Regions from separate parts of the Homo sapiens genome. Here region 1 is linked to region 2. Evidence: promoter capture Hi-C in human tissues and cell types (Jung and others, 2019). All regions are on one chromosome and are shown on one strand. Each heading gives the region's core, a stretch centred on a gene start or on the middle of the fragment in contact. The rest is flanking DNA. Distances are from core to core; before and after follow the strand shown. Region 1 has its middle 56 kb from the start of GNB4. Region 2 holds the start of ACTL6A (actin like 6A).

Region 1 (6,816 bases), core at 4,267-6,766, 54 kb before region 2:
GGTGAATTAAGAACAGCTTTGATTTTCTGTTCCATTTGTTTCTATTCCAAGACCCTTATAATTAAGACTGTTGGAAGCATGATGTCACAGCTCCCAGTGTTATCTAGTGCCAGCAAGTAGTCCCAAACATAGGCTTCAGCCTTCATGGTGGGTTGGCTTATTATTCAAATACAAGGTTGCAAACCTACATGGTTGCATTCAAAGGATTAAATTAAAGGGCAGTGGCCTTAAATTGTGGAATGAATCACAAGCCAAACTTGTTTGATCTGTTTTCCATTTGCTCAAAGCCAAGATTCAAAATACTACTCCTGAGCCTCTGCATTGCTTTCTTTTGCTTGTAAGATGGATAATAGATAAAGCTAGGTTGAACTAAACAGGGGAATGGCTCTGAGTTCTGAACTCCCAGATCGTTCCAAGCAGACTTTTTCCCCATGTCATCATAGTCAGTTTCCAGGGATGAGTGGGACAGTCAAGTTTTTATAACTGCTTTCCTTTAGTATTATAATCTTTTTCATTCTTCTCAAATCAAAATTCTGAATTTTCTAGTACAGCTTGCTTTTTCGTGAGTCTGCTTTTTTTAAAAAATGGATTATTTTCTGCAGCTATCTCACATAGGAGAAAAAGGTAAAGTTTTATAAAAATAACTATATATCACCTTCTCCCATCTCTCCCACAGGCCTGATACTGTGTAAAATATGTCATGGGCAGAAAATATATATTCTGAATATATATGATTTTCTTTTGTCTTACTTTTGGCTACTTCTCTGAAGTTGTAAACAAAAGGACATGCTGATCCAGTGTTTAGGACCTGCTAAAAGGTTGTGAAACTCTTTGTGACTCTAAGCCCATCTCCCACCTCCAGCCTATAGATAAGATGAGGAATGTTGGGGATAAGAATCACTTTTGGAAATAGTTATTAGAACACCATGCATTGAAATCTTTCTATCCCACCCCCAGCTTTAGTGAGATAAGGAGCTCTAACAGACCATTTCAGAGAGCTTGCCATATCTCTGCAGGTATTTGGAGGACACAGAGACTAACTTGCTCCCAGATAAGACTAAAGATAAGAGCTGCCCCTGATAATAGAGTGAGGAGTGAAGGCTATAGTGGAAAGAGCAAGCATTTTCAGAATTCAGTGGTGGTAAAAGTCTGAGTATTTCTAGTGGACCAGACCGGACACTGCAGTAGGTGGCCTGTGTGAGCTTTCTTAAGGCATCTTCATTCTAGAGGTCTGTCTGCCTGACAAGATGACCCTAAGAGAAACTGGCTCTGGGGTGTAGAGCCAGAAGCAGGAGCTCTGGGAACAGTTGTGGGGTCAGCTGGAGGATGCTTGCCCACATCAAGGAATTGTGTAGTGGGAGATTCTGGCAGGGAGTCTTCAAACAACTAAAACCATTGCTTCAAACCATTGCTCTTTCCTCCCTACCAAAAGAATAGTGTGTCCCAGAAGAGGCTGATCCTTCAACCTAGGTCCCAAAGTCAAGAGCACATGAAGCTGATCCACAGCTAACCTGCAGTGAACAGCAACAGTCTAGGAGAGAAGGAGCCAGCACCTGTTACAGGCCTATACCAATACGGCATCAGTAAACAGAGCAACTGGAGGAAGATGTAGAACAAGTAGAGGAAAGCAGACCCTCTCATCGCAAAGCTCCAAACGTAGATCTGATTGAGAGCTATGGAAGAGAGAAGGAGCTTTAAACTGAATGAGAGATTAAAGCTTGGATTTTGATAAAATTGAGCTTCTTAAGTCATGAAGATGAAACTGTGTGACAGATAGTACCTCGGAATTTAAAGAAAAACTTTTAGATCTGCATCAGATAATATCCAGAGTCAGAGAAGGGAAGAAGGGAATAACATTCATGTAGATTTGAAAGACAGTGAGAAAAATATGTCTATTTAATAATTTTACCTTACGAAATTCAGCTGGCTTATAATGATGATATATAAAGAGCATACAAAATATACATATCCACAGGAATTTAGAGCTGAGGTGGATTTTATTCCTGCTCTCAATGAGTCGGTGTCTCTCCATGTGAAAGAATTATACTTATTTACCCACTGACATGACAACTTGATTCTGTTATTTGCTTCAGTAGTATGTGTCTATATAATGAGTGGAGTGCTGGACGACACGTTCCAGCAAAAGCTTTAAGAGTCATCATATGACTTCATCATTGCTCTTTTCTCCCTACTAAAAGAATAGCATGTCCCAGACAGAGGCTGATCCTTCAAACTACGTCCCAAAGTGAAGAGCACATGAAGCTGATCCACAGCTAACCTACAGCCAACATGAAATATGAGTGAGAAATAAGTCTTTGTTGTTGCTGTGTTTGTAAGCCACTGAGATTTCGAGGGTGTTTGTTACTGCTGCACAGCTAACCTAAGCTGATTTACATAAGCAATATTTGGCAAAATTAAGATACAGGTTTATTAAAAAGTTGAATAGCAGTATAGAAATATCACAAGCTGCCGGGCGCGGTGGCTCACGCCTTTAATCTCAGCACTTTGGGAGGCCGAGGCAGGAGGATCGCTTGAGCTTAGGCATTTGAAACCAGCCTGGGTAACATGGTAAAACCCTGTGTCAATATAAAAAAATTAGCCAGGCATGGTGGTACATGCCTGTAGTCCCTGCTACTTGGGAGGCTGAGGTGGGAGGATCACCTGAGCCCAAGAAGTGGAGGCTGCAATGAGCTGAGATTGTGCCACTGCACTCCAGCCTGGGCGATGAAGTGAGACCCTGTCTCCAAAAAAAGAAAAGAAAGGAAAAAAAGGAAAATTACTCTAAAACACTAGCAGTATTTATCTTTGAGTGATGGGATTGTGAGTGATGTTTAAAATGTGTTCTTTTGCTTATCTGATACAGAGAGGGAAAAAATATTTTAAAATAAAAAATACAAACAAAAGGGAGGAGAAATACACATAAATTAAAGGAACAGGAAGAAAACAAGTTTTGGTGATAGCAATGACAATGAAAAAGAAAGGATGGCACAAGAGGCTTTATAAAAGAAAACTTGAACGAACTTAGTTCACTAGCCCCTGAAACTCTCTGGGGCTTCAGAATTCATTCACACTGAAGCAATTTTCAGTCAACAAACTGTTTAGATTATTGAAGTCAGTTACTTTCTTCATGCTTCTCAAATCCTAGTTCCATACTCTCATCCTCATTAATACTCATTCCTTTGTTATTCTCTCTCTCATTTTTTTCTATATTACCCTCTGTAATTCTCTATTTAAATAAGCTCTTGGATTTCCTTCCCCTTATCTTACAATCTGTTGCTCACTCCCTAAAGAACATAGCACCTTGTAGTTAATGATGCTGAACAGATATTTGTTGAATGAATGCTTCTCTGTAGTGTAACTCCACCTGATTCCCTCCTCATAGCTCCTCAGCCTCCAACCTGTTGCTTCTCCTTCTGTGTTCCCATTCTGAGGAAATAGTACCAACACCCACCCAGCGGACCAAACTAAAACTAGAAATCTGAGAGTACTGTAGAGTCGCCATCCATCTGCCAAGTCTTATTAGTTCTGTTTCCTTCATGCATCGTAAATAAGTTTTCTTCCCTTTATCCTTTCTGCCACTACCCTAGTTTAGACTTTCCTCATTGCTCCCCTAAATTATTGCACTAGTCTTGCCTCTGCTTTTTTCTTCCTTCAGCTCTTCCATTCTTTGACCAATGTCCAGGCTGATCTTTTCAAAATGAGATTCCGATGATATTATCACACAGTTTTATTAATAAATCCTTTGAAGTGTTCCCAGAGGGTTCACTGAAAGGGAGAAAGAAAAAGACAGGAAGGTAGGAAGGAAGGAAGGAAGGAAGGGAAGAAGGAGGAAGGAAGGAAGGAAGGAGAAAAGAAAAGAAAGGCTTGTAGCATAGCATGGTGAGTAGACAAAATTCATTGTCATCAGGTCTCTGTCTCTTTATCTGCCAAACTGTGACACTCCAGGCATATTGAAAAATCCGTAGTTGTTGGAACACATCCTGCTCTCATTTGCCTCCAGCTCCCTCTGCCTGGAGTGCTCTTCTCCCATCTTCATCCTGTTGTTCTTGTGATTAAATCTTATTCCCACTCTCCCCATCCCCAAACTCAGCTCAGACATTACCTCCTCGGTGAAGTCCCCCTTGATGAGGGTTTTCTCTACTCCCTTTGTTCTCCCAAGCCATCTCGTGTTTACTTCAACAGCACTTTGTACAATCTTGGTATCATTTAATTATTCTCGCGTCTTCTCCACTGCAATGTTTGTTCCTTGGAATCACAGATCATGTCTTGTTCATCATATGATTGGCACATAGTTAATGCACAAAAAACGTTGATGTTAACTGAATGAATAACCACATGTTCTGGTGATTGATAGACTGTGAGGACTAAACAAAATGGAGAAGTCTAAGTTGACCAATTTTGATACTGAGAGGTTGGGAGAGTTGAAGCACTGAGAACAGAAACGGAAGTTTGGAGGCAGAGTTAGTTCAAGGAGAAGACTGATGCTTTGTCTTTATACATCATGAATTTTAACTGAAAGTATCCAAATGGAAATGACAAATATGGACATTTTATTTTTTATTAACTTTTTAAAAATAGAGACAGTTTCTCATTATGTTGTCCAGGCTGGTCTCGAACTGCTGGCCTCAAGCAATTTGCCTGCCTCAGCCTCCTAAAGTGCTGGGATTACAGGTGTGAGCCACCATGGCTGGCTGACATTTTCTTGTAGATCCACAGTGCCCCCACCCACACAGATCCATGGCAAACACACCACCATGGATGACACATGGGCACAGCAGACCCCTCACTGGAGAGGCAGCAGCTGGGGCAGCATGAGGCTCCCATGATCTCTCAGCCTCGCAAGCGCTGTACAAGATGCTGATAGGGTTAAAATAGATAGCTATCTGCTTACATTTGCGAAAAGAAACTGAAAAGATAAACCAAAACCAATAAAAATGCAGATGGAAGTTATTCTTCTGCGAGTATACTTTATACAGTTTTAGCATCTTGTTAATATTTCACATATCCAAAAGATAAAATTCAATCAAAAAGGAAAGATAATCCCTAATTTAAAAAAATTGAAATACATATTTTATTGTTTTTAACTCTATATCAAGTTAGTGACATAACTACATAGAAAATAATTACTTGAAGTCATTAACACAGCATTTTGATATATTTGCTCAATGGAATATATTCTAAGGACAAATAGAGCTGCAAAGAAATCGTAAAATTCATGCATTAGATACTTATTGTTAATAGTAATATCAGTATTATTTCAAAACTGTTTTATATGTTGCAGAAGAAAGCAATAACTATGTTAATATTGTTGGGAATCAAAACCTCTCTTTCAGCATGTGTATATATATATATATATATATATAGTCCCTGTAATGTTAAATTTGAATTGGAAATATCAGTATGAGCCTGTGATTTTTAAAAAATTTCCAGAAATATGTATTTCCTAGCTCTGTCCACTGAGAAGTCCTAGAAGTGATGACAGCACAGCTTGTGGCCTTTAAATATCATTTCCCACTCAACAAACCAAGTTTCCTTGGAGAAATGGAGGATTCCAGGTCTATGCATATATATACATACACACACACACACACACACACACACACACACACATATACGGCACCTTGCCTTTTTCATTGATATTGATAAGATGATCATGTAGAAATTGAATCATCCTTGTCTTAGGTGGTGGAGATCTGGAGAACATTTAATTTAACCCAAAGAGATTAATTTGTAAAATCAGAATGCCCATTTATTATTTTAGGTAGTGAAATAACACTACGAAATAAACTAGATATTCACACTGGCATTCTCTGTCTGTGGGCAGATCTTGGGAAGCCAAATTATAAGCAGAAGTAGCTTCTGAGCGCCAAACCCGAGTGAAGAGAGTTAGGTGGTAGCCCTAGGGGTTGACGTTCTCAAGTCATGGTCATCCCACGCAGTCTCCACGTAGACAACTCAATATGCAACTACTCCATGGAGCGGACTGTTGCCCTGTCCCACCTGGGTTTGCAGTGTTATAGACCCTTGGCCTCCATTCACCCTTTGGCCCTCCCTTCCCTCTTTTTTTTTTTTTTTCTGGCCACCCTCCTCCCCACTGGCAGCCTCTTTCTTTAGATATATTAAGACTATCAAGCCTTAGCAAGCAAAAGATCACATCTGTCCCTGCAGATGTGTTTTTGTACCACTTGGCATACAATATTGGTTGTCCACATTTCACATACAAATACAGAATTCTGACTTCAGAGACAGGGCCTCGCTCTGTCAGCCAGGCTGGAGTGCAGTGATGCAATCATGGCTCACTGCAACCTCAGCTTTGACCTCCTGGGAACAAGTGATCCTCCCACCTCAGCCTCCCAAGTAGCTTGGACGCCAAGTGTGCACTGTCACGCCCAGCTAATTTTTATTTTATTTTATTTTTTTAAGACAGGGTCTCACTATGATGCCCAGGCTGGTCTCAAATGCCTGAGCTCAAGCAATCCTCCTGCTTCGGCCTCCCAAAGTGCTGGGATTACAGGTGTGAGCCACAGTGCCCAGGCTTCTTTTTTTTTTACAAAAAGAGAAAAAAATAGGAAAACAAATTGAGCCACAAGTAGTTGGAGAAGTAGAAGCTATCCAAAATCCCCAGTTTACCATGGACCCGCCCTGCCCAGCTCACTCATTTCTATCACTTGTCTTGCCACTGTCAGTACTGAATTTGCAATCCTGGCTTTAAGATTCTTCTGTAGGATCAGTCCCTCTGCTGAGCCACTGCCCTCATTCAGTAGTGAACTATCAGAAGAAAATCTTTCTTCTTATTAATAGTACTCAGGTTCAAGG
Region 2 (7,425 bases), core at 3,331-5,830:
CATAGCAAACCTATTAGTGTGTTATAAAGTTACCAGCTGTGACCAAACATACTTTTATTTGCTTCTTTATAGATCTAGGTTACATTATTGAAATGGATAGATCTCTTACTATTCTGATGGCAAACATGTATGAATCTTACCAATCATATTTCTATTGTTGAAAAACCCTATATATGATACCAGGTATTTATCTTTTATCTCAGTAGTGCTTGGATGAGTGTTATACATTTGGAACTTCAGTACGCAAAGGATGGTGCTTACAATGACTCCTCATACACACAAAAATGTCTATTTTGAAAATTGCTTTTTACTACTGCCAACTTTATATATTTTGCAGCATGAAACAAAATAATTCTAAATGTACATAAATTTTTGTGTCATTTCTTCCTGACGGATGATAATTTTCTGAATTTGTTTCCTAGCTTGCATAAACAGCAGTTGCATTTTTTTTTCAATGCTGAACTTAATAAAAGCTGAGACAGAGGATAAGATATGTAACATTTTGTAATGACTGCTGAAATTCCATAACCTGAGTGCTGACAGGGCTGGTGAAGAAAGTAGAGAGGATCCAGCATCACAAGTCCTGGTGGATCATTACAAGAATGGACGACCAGCGACCCAATGTGGCAAAGCCAATTGTTGCACCTGGGGCCACAGAAGAAATTCTTGATGCTTGGATATTACAAATGATTTTTGAAAGCCTCTTTATTTTTGTAAACTGGATTCGGAATCAACCACTGAGCACCTACTCTGGGCTAGATAAATTTATATACCTGTTACTTCAACATCTTTTGTTTTTAGGTTGACATACCTGATATATTGGTTCAGGGGGAAAATTGCAAGCATTGATAGTTTTGATATGCTGTGCCTTTGAGAACTGAAATAACAGACAATAACCTTGAGTTGTTGCAGTTTAATCTGACTAGTTATTGACAACATTAATATAGGCTGAGCCAAGACTTTAGAGAAAACATGTTAGACAACAGGGGAGAAATATCACTACTCAAAAAACCCCAACCCTCATATATTTTATATTTCATAAAGCAGATTTTGCTGGGTTAGTACTTTTGTTTTAATGTACTTTCAACTAGTTTTCCTAAGAATTGAAGATTGGGAGGCCGAGGCAGGTGGATCTCTTGAGGCCAGGAGTTCAAGACCAGCCTGGCCAACATGGTGAAACTCCTTCTCTACTAAAAATACAAAAATTAGCTGGGCATGGTGGCACATGCCTGTAGTCCCAACTACTGGGGAGGCTGAGGCAGGAGAATCACTTCAACCTGGGAGATGGAGGTTGCAGTGAGCCAAGACCATGCCACTGCACTCCAGCCTGGGCTATAGAGCGAGACTCTGTTTTACAAAAAAAAAAAAAAAAAAAAAAAAAAAAAGAATAGAAAACAGCCATACTGTTAAGTCAAAGGAAATAACGTCATTAATATGGAGGATGCCCATCCACCGACATAGTTCTTTTAGAAGGCTGAATAGGTTTTCTTTCTGAACAATCTCATGCTCCAGCAATTCAATATTTCAGGGCCAATAGTCTTAGTGTCCTATTACATTTTTTATTGATTAAAATTTATCAAAGGATTCACAAGTGTGCACTTTTATCTGTGTCAACATGTGATTTGTCCTGAAACATCAGATGTAATGTGAAGTTTATTTCCTTTGAAATTCATTTCAATGGCTTATTATTAAATGAAGCCGTGGTTCCAATGGGACATCAAGAGATTCCAAGCCAACCTGATATTACAAATGAATGAACAAACAAATGATCTGTTTTCTAGTATTTTTCCAAATTATCAAATGGAGCAAAACCTGACTTTAAGCAAAATCATCTGAGTGTCACTTCCATCTTCTTTGTGCTGTCAGATTTACAATTCTCCTGCACAGTTTGGTTACTCTGCACACGGTGCAGGACAGTTTTAAATCTGGGGAGGAGACAGTCCCATCTCAGGCTTTCCAGAGGCTAGAGGGCGTGGTCCTCATCATCAACCCTCTTGAACTGTTTTGTTTTAAGATAAATGCTGAACAAGTGGAACAAATATTTTACTCTCTTTTAGACTAGATAGGTATTTTACTTCTAGGATATATTATCTTCAAACATGAGAGATGTTGGAGATAGTATTGAAGAGAGATATCAATGTTCAGCGATATCAAAATCTAGTTAATTTGCTGTATATAAATTATTTGGCATTTAAATGCTACATTGATTTAAATGGATAACTGTGTATTATAAACTCACAAATAGCATCTCTTCAATATTTAATTATTAGAAAACATCTCAATATTTTATACTCTTCAGCTACTAGTCAAAGACATCATAAAAACATAGATTGGAAGAAGAAATATTTTGGGGATTTGATATGCAGCTACAGTGACAGCTATAATAATGGGGACAACAGTTAACATAGGGTACTTATGCACGCTATGCTGGTTATATTACATGTGTTAGCTCAGGTCTGCAAACTCTTCTTGTAAAGGGTCCAGTAATAAATGTATTCTCCAGCTGAGTGGGACACATAGTCTCTGTCTCCCAACTACTCAACTCTACCCTTACAGAGCAAAATAGTCATAAATGAGTAAGTGTGGGCTGTGTCCTAATAAAACTTAGTTTAAGGTCACTGAAGTGTGAATTTCACATAGTTTTCACATCTCTCTCCTTCTTTCTTTTGTTTTCTTTTTTTCTTTTTTTTTTTTTTTTTCAGGGACTTGCTTTGTCACCCAGGCTGGAGTGCAGTGGGGAGATCACGACTCACTGAAGCTTTGAACTCCCAGGCTCAAGCAATCCTCTCACCCTAGCCTCCAGAGTAGCTAGGGGGCATGCACCACCATACCCAGATAATTTTAAAATTTTTTGTAGAGACGGGGGTCTCCCTGTGTTGCCCAGGCTGGTCTTGAACTCCTGGCCTCAAGCGATCCTCCTGCTTGGACCTCCCAAAGTGCTAGGATTACAGCTGTGAGCCACCATGCCCAACCTGTCACATATTATTCTTTAAAATATTTTAAATAATAATTTAAAAACAGAAATAATCATTCTTAGCTCAAGGCCAAAAAAAAAAAAAAAAAAAGGCAGTCTTCCCACCTGCTTCCCCTTTTCCCCACCTCCCCTCCCCACCCCACACACAAAAGACTGGATTTGGCCCTAGTGCCATAGTGTGCTGACACACATCTGCATTATCTCACTGGGTTAATAGGGCTTTTCTAAATGGTCAGATACACTGTGATTATATTGTCAAGTGAATGGGAAAGAGTTTTCCCGCTAGCCTTTTTTCCCACCCTACTGCCTCATCACTTTCTGCCACCCTCTGCCACTGAGACTGATGGGGTTTTAGTCAATCGTTTCTAAGGTTAAAAGTAGGCACTGCATGTCTAGACTCTAGACAAGGATCAATTACAAGGATAGGCAGCAATCTTAAGGGTTTGAGCGCTGGAGTGTCCTGATCGGGTTTGGGCGTTTTCACAGATGAAGCTCCCTTGATCAAGAGTGGCAAAGGGACACAGCAACAAGTTGTTGCAGTAATCTGGGGATAAAGGAAGGTGATCTGGACTAGGCTGGTAGAAATAGGGGACTAAGGCTGTTTTTGGGATGCCTATTTAGGATTGGGTGCTTGCTTGAATGAAGATTGATTAGCTGTTTTAAATACCTCTCACAGGATAAAAGAAATTGATTTTTTTTTTTTTTGAGACAGAGTCTTGCTCTGTCGCCCAGGCTGGAGTGCAGTGGCGCAATCTCGGCTCACTGCAACCTCTGCCTCCCGGGTTCAAGCGACTCTCCTGCCTCAGCCTCCTGCGTAGCTGGGACTACAGGCCCGGCTACTTTTCTCATTTTTAGTAGACACAGGGTTTCACTGTGTTGCCTAGGCTGGTCTCGAACTCCTGACCTTGTGATCTGCCCGCCTCGGCCTACCAAAGTGCTCGGATTACACGCATGAGCCACCACGCCCGGCCTGAAATTTTTTTTTTTTTTTAAAGAAATGAGTAAGTTTTTTAATAGTTTTTAAAGCGCTACCTAGGTTTAGCTGGGATACCGCATAATTTCATTCTTCTTTTACTTATTAATAACCATTTTAAAAACTGCAAGATCCTATCAATTTGTCTGATTTACTGATTCCCCTATCCCAAAGTGGAGCGCAAAATTTTTACTTTTTCAACATAAAAGTTAGTTTAAAATACTTTTTCTGAAGAAAAAAAGAAAGAAATCCGCATTCCCCACAGTCACTGGACAGGAATCTCGGCGTGGAGACACCCGTTCAATTTCCAGGGGTCTACCTTCCCCTACCCGGGTTCCCGCCGCTCCTCAGCGCCCAGACGCACCTCCTAGTCCCGCCCCCATGCTTCTTCCAGCCTTCCTCCTTCTTCTCCCACTGCCTCCGCCCATTCCCTCGCCCACCCGGGAAGCTCCGCCCCCTCCAGCTCCGCAACCCAACTCCTTCTGTCCTGCTGTCGCTTTCCTCTTTCCCGCCCCCATGGCTGCCTTCGATTGGCTAAACCTGCTGGGCCGCGGCGGGGATGCGGCGCAGCCGCATTCTGATTGGCTAGACTTAGGCCTGGACCCTAGTGATTGGCTGATAGGAGGAGCCAGCAAGTGTGGCTGAGCTCCGGGGTGTGTGGACGCCGCTTTGTTGCCTGAGGTGGGTGGCGGTGGAAGTTAAGGGAGTCAGGGGCTATCGCTCCTCGAGACTCGCAGTCGCGGCCACTGCAGTCACTTCGCCAGTTAGCCCTTAGGGTAGGAGTCGCGCCGGCAGCAGCCATGAGCGGCGGCGTGTACGGGGGAGGTGAGTGAGTGCGGCCGGACGAGAGAGCGCGCCTTTTCGGCGTGTGGGGTTTGTAACCGCCGCTCCCAGCCCTCCCCTCCCCGGCGTTCCCTTCCGGTCTCCCCCTCTCGGGACCCCGGCCTCCCCGCCCCGTCCCCGCCCCACGCTCTGCCCGCCCCCGGAGCCCACCCGGCTCGCCGTGCTCCTCGGGCTCCCTGAAGTGGCGGCTCTCTGTGGCCTCTTCCTGCCTCTGTCCCCGGAGGAGCAGGGTTTTGGGGTGCGCGCTCGGTTCTCTAGGGAGCCTCGGGGCTGGGCGGGAGGCTCAGTCTAGCCGGCCGCCGGGCCCCGGCTTGGGTGACCGCCCCAGGGTCGCATCTCCCCGAGTGCCTCCTGGACTCAGCTGTGTCGGGACGCGTGTGCGCCCGCCTAAACTTGGAAGGTCCCGGCGGTTTGCAAGCGTGGACGGAGGGTTCCCAGAGTGTCCCATAGGTGGCAAAGCGAGCCTCAAGCCGTAGAACTGACTAGGGAAGCGGCGGCCACTTAGGGTACTGCCTCCTCCCCGTCTGCGCCCCATGCGCGAGCTGCCTCACCTTTCAGTAACTCTTGCCTGTTTTTTGGCTGCGGAGTCTCCAGAGTGACTCGTGGGCGGGTCTGTTTGAGATCAATTCAGGAGCACGTGTAATTTAAGGATGCCCAGAAAGTTTGCTGGGGGTCCTAGGCGTGTTATTTTTTCACTTTCTTTGATTAGACTGTGGTGTGGTAGGAAGATTACCAGGTGCCGGGGGTTACAGACCTGGGTTGAAATATCCACCTCACTCTTTATTAAGCGCTTTGGTCTTGGGCAGTTTATGTAACTTTCCAACTTCAGGCCTCATTTATGGAATAATTCCTAGCCGATGGGGGTGGGCATGAAGGTTAAATGAAATAATGCTGCATTTGCCACTTAAAGTCTGGCCCATGGACCAGCAGTGTCAGCATCACCTGCAAGCCTGTTAGAAATGCAGGATCTCACGCGTCATTCAGAATCTACTGATTTAGAGCCTCCATTTTTGCAAGATCTGCAGGTTAATCGAAACACTGATACATATAATTCATGTGTTGGGTTGTGTTTGATGAGTTAGAGACCCAGAAAACAAATCCAGACTATTGCTGTTGTTACTGTGTCTAGTAGTGATGCTGTTTCTATAAAGGATGTCATTTTACAGGTAGGAAACAACAAAAATAAGATTTTTCCTTCATGTTCCCCAAGAAAATCACATCACCCCTAAACTTGGAAGGAGAAAAACATTAAAATCCTCAAAAAAGACAAAAGCCTTTTTAGTAGAGTAGAGGTTCAATTCTTGAGGATTTTTATAGACTAGAAATTGCATCCTAGGTTTTAAACATCCAGAACTCTGTGGTTCTATTAAGCCTCCTGCCTCCCATGGCCACTCTCCTACTTTGGGTTCATGGGGCTTGATTTTTAATGAAGCAGGGTACAGGAATTAGATGTATCTCCCATCCTGGAAAAGGAACAGATGTAAAATTCTGAGAATTTAGAGTCTTAAATTAAAATTCCACCATATCCAGTTTACTAAACTAATTAGGACAGGAAAATGAGCTGATATGTTGGATTTTTTCTATTTCACAAAAATGTTTTTTGAGTACTTGCTATGTGGCAGGTATAGGCTCTTGTCATCAAGAAGCTCAGTCTTGTAGATGAGTCTGTTAGGTAAATAGACACCGTATTTCACTGATTCTTCGTTGTACATTTTTTCCCACATTTAAACAGCTGAAGTTGGAATATGTCTTTTTTTTTTTTTTTTTTAATAGAGATGGGTCTTGAACTCCTGAGCTCAGGCGGTCTTCCCACCTCAGCCTCCCAAAGTGCTAGGATTACAGGTTTGAGCCACTGCCCCCAGTCAGAATATGTCTTAACAGTGCTGGCGTGGCAGAGTTTAATTGCCATATTATTTTGTTAGTGATGCAGGAAATAGTGGTGCATCATGTAGTTGATAGCATCTTATATTGATCAGAAATGGTAACTGTAATTCAATGAGAGATGTTCATTGATAACAATATGTAGAAGGGGCCGGGTGCGGTGTAATCCCAACACCTTGGGAGGCCGAGGCGGGCGGATCACTTGAGGCCAGGAGTTCAAGACCAGCTTGGCCAACATGACAAAACCCTGTCTCTACTAAAAATACAAAAATTAGCCAGGCGTGGTGGTGCATGCCTGGAGTCCCAGCTGCTGGGGAGGCCGAGGCACAAGAATCGCTCGAACCTGGAACTGCACTCCAGCCTGGGTGACAGAGCGAGACTCTATCCTAAAAAAAACAAAAACAAACATATATATATGTGTGTTATATATGTTATATATATTACATATATGTTGTATATATTATATATTATATGTTATATATGTCCTATATATACATATATATAGTGCAAAGGTAGCTCAGAGAATAAAGTTATTGATTCCGTGTGGTGGAGTCAAGGGACTTTACAATAGAGGTAATGGGGATGATGGAGGAGGAGTGGAAAGGGACAGCATATGCAAAGGTTAGCTGAGTGAGAGTATGTGGTGCGTTCAGGAGATGACATATTACCCAGTAAGTTAGTGTATGAGGCAGGAAGTGAGACTGCTACCAGATTTTGCTACACCTTGAATTTCAACTGGCTAGAGTGATTTAAA

Evidence for each region. Contacts are between HindIII fragments. The study calls those that stand out against the background at their distance.
Region 1: a fragment that was not itself captured here is called in contact with the fragment with the promoter of ACTL6A in region 2 in 1 of the 25 tissues and cell types used here (heart right ventricle).

The regions. Positions count from the first base shown.
Region 1 is chr3:179,503,594-179,510,409 of GRCh38, forward strand. It overlaps a transcript of GNB4 not described here. Among named protein-coding and RNA genes, the nearest start is that of GNB4, 56 kb to the left of the region's middle. The HindIII fragment of the contact is 7,171 bases long and covers 1,932-6,816 here.
Region 2 is chr3:179,558,346-179,565,770 of GRCh38, forward strand. ACTL6A (actin like 6A) reads left to right here and starts at 4,581. Exons shown (of 14, transcript NM_004301.5): 1 at 4,581-4,772. The coding sequence starts at 4,748. RefSeq lists silencers at 456-750, 4,443-4,672, 7,402-7,425. The HindIII fragment of the contact is 12,889 bases long and covers 1-7,425 here.